2 separate regions of the Homo sapiens genome follow, and region 1 is linked to region 2. The links are contacts of gene promoters, found by promoter capture Hi-C in blood cells and fetal thymus (Javierre and others, 2016). All regions are on one chromosome and are shown on one strand. The core of a region is centred on a gene start or on the middle of the fragment in contact, and the rest is flanking DNA. Distances in the headings are between cores, read along the strand shown.

What was found. Contacts are between HindIII fragments. The CHiCAGO score rates a contact against its expected background, and 5 or more counts as called.
Region 1: a fragment that was not itself captured here is called in contact with the fragment with the promoter of PEX5L-AS2 in region 2 in 1 of 17 cell types (total CD4 T cells); the score reaches 5.8 in total CD4 T cells.

Annotation. Positions count from the first base shown.
Region 1 is chr3:181,276,824-181,281,649 of GRCh38, reverse strand. The region is part of intron 3 of SOX2-OT (SOX2 overlapping transcript); the gene reads right to left. Among named protein-coding and RNA genes, the nearest start is that of SOX2-OT, 220 kb to the right of the region's middle. The HindIII fragment of the contact is 6,428 bases long and covers 1-4,826 here.
Region 2 is chr3:179,895,677-179,899,850 of GRCh38, reverse strand. PEX5L-AS2 (PEX5L antisense RNA 2) reads right to left here and starts at 1,657. Exons shown (of 3, transcript NR_110059.1): 1 at 1,500-1,657. PEX5L (peroxisomal biogenesis factor 5 like) reads left to right here. Exons shown (of 15, transcript NM_016559.3): 3 at 1,605-1,709. The HindIII fragment of the contact is 5,337 bases long and covers 355-4,174 here.

The DNA.
Region 1 (4,826 bases), core at 1,492-3,991, 1.4 Mb before region 2:
AAAATATCTATCCTCGGGTAGAGGATTGAAGGAGAATTATAGGTCTGACACAGGCAGGAAAGTTTTTATTGAAGAATAATGATTCATTATACAGCATCATTGGTGATAAAATTGTCCAAAAAGTCGATTTCCCAAGTAATTGAAATTTACTCATTTACAGTTTCCAAATTTTCATATTAAAAATTATGCTTCTAAAATGTATTACAGGCTTTCTGACTTATATTAAGCAAATAACATTACAAATAATTCTTCCTTGAGCTCATTATATTAAATATCAATCATTATTTTAGACAACTCAAGTATGTAACAGGGCCTTTTGCTCCTACATTAAATGGCCTCAGACTACTATACACTTTGAGTTTTGTAGGATTAAAAAAAAATTATCCAGAAACAATTTTAGACTTACTTAAAGGTTGCAAAAAAGTATAGTCTCCATATATATCCTTCACTCAACTTCCCCTAATGCTATTATCTTATTTAACCACAATATAATCTTTAAAACCAAGAAATTAACATTGGCAAAATACTACTAACTAGATTGAAAACTTTACTCAGATTTCACCAGTTACTAATGCCAAATCTGTGTTCCAGGATCCAACCCGGAGCCCCATATTGAGTTAAATTTTTTGTCTCCTTAGCATCCTCTAATCTGTGACAGATCCTTGGTCTGTCCTTGTCTGTCATGATCCTGTCACTCTTGATGAGTCCTAGTCAGTTTATTACATGGACTGTTCTTCAATTTGTGACTTTTCTAATGATTATACCGAGGTCATACATTTTTGGTAAGAAATGCTACAACACAAGGAAGGTCATGCCCTTTCTTTGGTAATCATATCAGAGGGTTCATGATGCGATATGTCTTATTCCTGATGATGTTAACCTTGATCACTTGGTTAAGGTGGTGTTGGATGAGATATTCCAAGTAACTATTTTCCCTTTGTAATTAGCAAATGTTTATTTGAATTATTAACACAGTTCTTCCAACTCTGTTTTCAGAACGAGGCATCAGATGTCACTCCTTATGCCTACCACTAGTAACTTGCCTTTCTAATTTAGGCTTCAATATCAGGGAAAACAATGATTTGTTAGAATTCTTTTTAAAATTAAAAAAGTGCATTCTAGGCAAGGGTTTATTGTGTACTTTTAAAGATATGTCTTTTTGCTGCTGGACATCCTTTATAGTTAAATTCATGTTCCCAGTTTTGAGACTTTCTATCTAGAATCTAAATTGTTAATAATGTCTGATAAGTGGACCTTCCTAAGCCAAGTATTATCTTAATGGTACTTATATATCAAGTGAAGATACCTGAAAACTCAGAAATGGGATCATCACAATTTGACTTATTAAATATATGTTTCCAGCTCAACAAGCTAGGGTACCCTCCTGTCTATAATCCTTTCCCAGAGGATGGAACAAAAAATTGAAATAGCAGAAGTTTGACATCCATTAATTTTATTCACCCTTAATATATCAAATGTAGACAGGAGAATCTGATGTGGCACCTATGAACCAAAAAGCTGTCTCATGATGACATGAATGTTAACCATCCTTTCCACATCTCTAAATTTCAGGTTCCCAGCTCTGAATCACCCAGGCTGCAGAAGCAACACAAGATCTAATCTTCATATTCCATTTGCCCAATACTGTCTATATCTTGGAAAAATCTTACTAAAAAGGTCTGTCTTCACGATGTCATCAAACCCATTCCTCTGCTTCTACATAGGCTTTCATGGAAACCATTTCAGAAAGGAAGCTGTGTGCCTTAATCTCTAATTTTTCAGAGAACACTTCTTTCTTATTATGTGTCTTTTACATTTCCTTTTCATTTCAAAGATCTATGTAAATGAAACATGTTTCTTCCTACAGTGAGATACATTTTAAAGTACAGTATATGTTTAGCATATATTTAAGATATTTTATAGGTTTCTACCGTTTTAATTTGATGAGGGTGAGCTCTAGCCCATTCTTCCTTTTTATATAACCTGATAAAAACCCCAACATTTCTCAAGTACAATGTCCAAATAAAATGTGATTTATGGTTCCCTATCTCCCTTGTGCATGTTTCCTAAAAATGATTGAGTCACTGTTGTTCTGTTGTTTAATCTGATAATTATACAAGCACAAATCTTATATTGGAGCAGAAAATGTTAACACACATTGAAAAACCAAAAAGCATGGAACTATAATCTGTATGATAAAATGTATTACTCTGTTTAAAAGGATTGTTTTACAGATGCAATTAACAATCAGCGATCATACAGTTTAGACCGGTGTTTTGATGCCATCTGTTGGAATAAGTCCTCTCTCTCTCTCTCTGGAATAAAGCTGTAATTTTCAGTTTACAGTTTCATTAAGGAACACACAGTACAACAGTCACCAACAGAAGAAAAATCCTAAACACTTTCAATTTTATAGCCTTCCAGAAACAAGAATGTTGCTGAAATTTTCTAAAAGAGAGAGAATTTAGAAAATTAGCAGCATGACCACAGATTGCTATTTTATTTCACAGCCTTTAAATATCACCAGCAGTTCAAATGCCAATGATGGTTTTAAAATTTTAGTTTCCATGTTTGAAATACGATATTCATTCTTTATTTATAATCTTTATTAACTTTAAGAAATGCTTTCCCTGTGCCTAAACAAATTATGTCATAATGCCAGTGGGAAAAGTTAACAAATAACCTGTCTATTGGAACACATTCCTGTTTGTTATTAGCTTATTAAATGCCAGATCACACCTTTGGGGGCTTTAAATACACTAGGGGGTGCTAGTTCTCTACATGTACACATTTACAAAGTGAAACGTTTTCTACAATTAATTTTTGGGAATTATAAAAGTTGATCTAAAATTCTAAAACAGTACGTTGGCTGCATATTACGTGTGAAGAAGACAAACAAAAAGAACTCATTAAAATTGCACTAAGAACTAAACAGCAAGAGTCCAAGTGGAAATACAATTATACATTGCAAGAGGTAAGATCGATACAGTTTTGTTTCATGGTTCAGACATCAGTTGCTAGTATCAAACAAAACCTGAAAGAAAGCCACAGCTTTTCAAAAAGTAAAGTATCAGACTTGAAATTCTTAGTGCTCTTTATTATGTCTATGGTGTTCCAAAAGAAATACAAAGCAAAACTACCAGGGAGAAGAGGTTTCTTTACTAAATTTAGACAACTTATTTGAGATTCTCTTCCTTTGATATGTTATTCAAACAGTCTCAAATGACAAGAAGTCACCATTAAGATCTGAACTTATGCTCTACAGTAGGCTGGCAAGTTGCCTCAAGTAACTAATGGCTCTCTCTGTTAGGTCTTGGAATATTTGCATGATGAAAGTACACACACATGCACACACACACACACATCAGTGTAAAGAAAGAAACAGTTTTACTTTTTGTAATTTTAAAAACAGAATCAAGTCCAACAGGGTCATTATCACAGATTCCATTCTATAGGTAGTATGTGGGTGGGGGAAAAGGGTCTATTTTTTCCTTATTCTCTTTGGGCTTAATTTTCCTTCTTTGAAAAGACTAACCAATAGCACTCCAGATATACTCAAATTCAGGCAAAGCATACTAACCTACAACTTTCCACCTTCAGAGATAGGTTGAATTTCAATAGCTTTTCTTCTACATAGAGGCTCTGGCATTTCTTTGTCAATTGTCAGGATCTACTTCAACCTCATTTTGTTTCCCTCTCTTCCCGTTCTACCAAGCAGCATGCATCTATCTGGTCTCTTTGGTCAACTACAAGTAGCCCAAAAATTGTTCCCAGGTTGTCATATTTCCTGCCCCACCAAATGCCCTAGCAGTACTTGATAGGTTTTACAGACTTGCTATACATTGCTCATAGCAGGAAATATCACACCTAGCAGGAGTTTGTCCAAAACACTTTGACATTATGGTAAAGAACATTTAAAACGATTTAGGCGAAGTTGTATCTTTGGATCACCACCTAGCATATCAACCCACAGCTATACCAGAAACAGAGTCAGGTACTTTTCATAAACAAACACAAATAGTCTAACACTCCAGTGGTGTGCCAACAATGCACACATACAGGGTATAGTACCTTGATTGTTTGAACAATTAGCCAGACCCATATAGCAGTACTGAAGGGTTTTATGCAATGATCATGCATCATCCTAATCCGTGAGTATCCTCTATTATTTTATGATTTTATATCTCCAAACTACCTAGTAATGGCATTTGCACTGCAAATATGTAAATGTTTTAAATTTGCATTCAAAATGGCAATTTCATGGGTTTATTTTTAGTCACTTCAGAGACTCATCAGATTCATCAAGTTTTCATCCTTTCCTTGAGAACAGGGGACAAATCTAGCATTGGTTACACCTTGGTAAACTAGATGAAGGCAAGAAAATGGTTTTCAAAATAGTAATCATTAGAATTGTCAATTTCTATTGACAAACAGTATAAACTGTGCCATTCTATATTTGGAATCTGGGAATCATAGGGTTAGAAGGGGCTTAAAAGTCATTTTTATTAAACACCTTGCTCCCATGTATGAAGCTCCCCTGCTTATCACAGACAAATGGCTTTCCATTTTCAACTTAGACCCCACCATCGAAAATCACTCTCTTACTGGCATAATTGTTAGAAAGCTCTGCCTGTCTTCTCGCCATCGCTCTGTTTTTTTTTTTTTTCTTAATACCTTAAGTTCTGGGACATATGTGCAGAACAGGTTTGTTACATAGGTATACATGTGACATGGTGGTTTGCTGCACTCATCAACCTGTCTTCTACATTAGCTATTTCTCCTAATGCTATCCCTCCCTTAGCCCCCCACCCCCCGACAGGCCCCAG
Region 2 (4,174 bases), core at 408-2,907:
ATTACTACTGACATATCTGCTGAATAAAATCTCTAGTATTTGATATTCCATCTTGGAAATAACACATTATAATTCAATAATGCTAGTTATAAAGTCAAAACAAAACAAAGAAACAAACTTTCAGCATTGTAAACAGATACACACATTTAAAAATCTATTAGCTATACAAAAAGTTTTTCTTTGTTCTCATAAAGAAAAGCTGCCTCTGGCTACATTTTAGAAAGTCAGTGCCTGAGAAAATGGATAATGTTTTGATCCCTAGAGTAAACCTACCTTCTAAATACTTAAAGCCCTTTGAAAGCACAAGATAATGATGTAATTGTATCCTTTTTGTTGCATGGAAACGATCAAGCTTTATTAAGTTCTGAGTTAATATCAACCCTGGCTCTTAATTCCCTTTTCCAATATTAGACCCCCATATGTCGGTTTTCGTTTCTCTGCCTGTGATAGGTCTGTCTGCTACATTTGTATTTTAAGTAGATTTACAACACAAATATTCATATCTTTTCTTAGTATAAAATTATTTTCTTCAGGGAGGCTTTACCCAGAGACCTGAGAAAATTGAAGTTTTTGTTTTTAAAGTATTTAAGGATTATTTAATTTTTACATAGTATGAAATTTTTCTAATTGGGATGGAAAGGTAATATTTTGGGGGGCTTTCCCATTATACCATATCTAGTCTCAAAAAATGTAATAATCTGGTAAACTCAAATAACAGAAAGCCACCATATCCCTTTACAGTTTATAATTCTACTTCTTTGAGACAAATAACATAGGGATATGTATGTGTTTGTATACATATTATCTATATATATACATATACATTTGTATCTATAGATATATAGAGAGATATAGATTAGTGCCACAATATTAATTATCCTTTACGTCAGTTATGGATTATCCTTTACGTATTAATTATCCTTTATGTCTGTATTTATGGGGTTCTTCAGTTAAAAGACACTTCTAAAACTCTATTAAAATTATTTGGTCTCAAAAACATTGAAAGTTGCAAAATGTTTTTTTCATGAAGTTTATACCATCTCCACAAAACAGACTGGGTGAATTACTGTTATGTCAAGCCACTGGAGGATTTTTAGATATTTTGCAACATTTTTACTCTTTTTATCCCAATCCACTCAAAAATGGCAAAGACTCCAGAGATCACCCAGCAAAAGCCCTCTGTGGGAGTTGGATCCTGCTTCTAATCTCTATCCCAAACTCCTGTCATTCAAAATATTTAGGAATTATGTAGTAATAATTTATAAATGAACGTAGCAGGCAACCCATAGTGTTTTTAAATTGATATTACAAAAAATTCATGTCATGTTAATTTCCTTAAAACATATTATACATATAAAATACTATGTTAAAATTAAATGTAATATGTCAGCTGTAAAGGGGAAAAAGTAGCTAACTAAAAGTTCACAAATAATCTTTTTTCAGATTTTGTGTGTTTTCTCCTCAGCCAAAAGCCTCAAGATTCACTTGCAGCAGCCTACCTCTTCATTTATGTTGGATTGCTCTTTAAACATTAGAATATCTTGTAATAAATAATAAGTTAAAGATCTCTCCTGACACAGTCATTGTTGATTTCACTGTTATAGGGAAAAGGCTCTAGGGCGGCAGATAAGGCTGTTGCCATGGTGATGAAGGAGATACCGAGGGAGGAGTCTGCTGAAGAAAAGCCCCTCCTTACTATGACATCACAGGTGGGCAGACCCATAGGGTTTCTGTAGGAAGCTGACATATGTTAATATATCAGACATTGTGATTTTTAACTAGAAAAAAAAAACTTTAACTCTTGAACCAATTTTTTTAAAGACAGTTTCAATGAAACAATTATACAAATATAGATGAAAACCAAAATTGCTAAAAAAAGAAAAATTCACCATCTAGTTATTTATTTGTGAATATTAATTTCATTACTCAACTTTAGTTAAGACAAAAGAGAAAGAGAATATATGTGCAAGTAAAACATGTTGCTTCTTTATAAAGGAGTCTTGTTAAAAACTTTGGGAAAGAAATAACAATTAAGCTAACAGTACATTTGAACAAAAAAAAATCAAATTCCTATGAATAAAAACAAGTTATATTGTATACATATGTCAGTTTACCAGTAGAATATCTAAATTTTCTTAAATGTTAAATATATTTATGTTGTGACTATGCATACTACATATATGTCTATACATATTTATGTGGATAACTAATTTACAGGAATGAGCCAGAAGTCCCTGAGTCCCCATGCAGAAAATGGCATTTGTGACCCCTCTTATACATAGTGACCTTGAGAACAAAAATGTCATCTCTATTATAAGCACATGAGAGCCATTTTCAGCATTTATTATAACAAGTATAGAAAAAAGTCTTCATTTGTATGCAAAGACATGTGGAGACTGTGAATCCTATATGTCCTCGGGGACTTTTGAAACACCCTGTAAAATCTACATAAATATGTATAATGTACTCATCACCACTCTGTGGAACTACCAGTTTTAAAATCGCAAATGAGAAATATTTTTACTTGCATTTATCTTATAATTTAGATTAGATTATTTTAAACATTTCATTTTTTCCATTCAGTTCCGATTATATGATTCAGTTCCGATTATATGAACATGCCTAGAATTCGAAAAATGTCCATTTACAGTCCTCATGAAAGACATTTATATCAAAAGCTAAATTATGGCAACTTATTTTTAGAATATCAGCGGATCTCATCCCCAGCTGCTGCCAACATGTGTGGTTTTACTTTATTCTAAATACTATGTTGTAAGTTATAAAAATTATAACATATAACATCAAAATTAAATAATTTTTAAAGCTATTAAAGATTCCCAAGACTTTGGGATACATTTTATGTTTTCAGCTTTTTTTATCCCAAAAGAAGAGATGCTACTTCCTAATAACACATGGTAATCATTGGAAAGAAATTTGCTTGATATTTACCAAATTCCTCATTCTTTACTTAATATACATAGTAAAACATATACAGTTTTACACTGAATCAGAGTCAGACCTCTGTAGACTCCCATGTCCAAAATTTTAAGTCCACAGTCCCTCAGGTGAATGCTATGGAAGGTGAGAACTACTTGAAGTTCTTGCTTAAGGGCAGAGCCATACAACGGTAGATAAGACCTAACCAAATTTGCAATTGGCACAGTTGTACTGTAACATATCACCTCAGGACTTCACAATCTAGGGCAGGTTCCAGTACCCAAGATTCTTTTTTCACAAAATCACGCATTGCTGTGTACTTTCTGATAATCTTTTCACATGTCCAAAATTACCATTATAACCTAGGCTTGCATTTAAAATTTAATGCAAAATAACATTTTTGATTTTTAATTTAGAAAAGAAATTGTGATTATTACCATTTTCTCATATCCAGGACATTTGTTTGTACCAAGTTCTTCCTTTAATCCCTGTCTAATGTTGCATTAACTGTTTTTGAGGTATTAGTTACACTTTACTGCATGAAGATTACAGAATGCTTTATCTGATGCATCATATTCTTGTTGCATACTGGCCGGTTTATGAATCAGCAAACAGAGTTCTGATTCAAAAAATTTAATGCACCTGTTGTGTTGATAGTATTACAGAATTAATTTAGTGACAGCTGTAATACAATTATTTCTCAGTCAAATGCAGTTTTATTAGTTGATATACTTTTTCCACTATACACAAGTGGCTTCTTCCCTGCTATGCACCAGTGGCATGCACAAACCAAAAAGAAGCAGAATGATCTGAAAAAGTGAGTACTTCCCATGACAACCATAGCATCTAGTCCGTGTATCGTACCACATTCTTACTTGTTATCTTGTGTGAATGTACTACTACTGTCTTGACACGTTTGTCCCAGTGTCTCCTGTAAAGCCCCTTATAACATAGTGCCACATACTGCTGAATACATTGATTCATCTTCATCACTGGTATGTCAATGCCAGATGCTCATGTGATAGATTCCAGATATGTCTGAAGATAATTACTACTCTATAAATAATGTCATTGGGATAATTACGATACATAAAATAGAAAATAACTCACTGAAACACTGAGCTTTTATCTTATTTCATAACTTTTCACTCAACAGACTGTAAGTGTAGAATAATCCCATATTCTAGAACTTTTTTGTATTATGTGATTATTACTGTGTGTTCCTCAACTTTTAGAG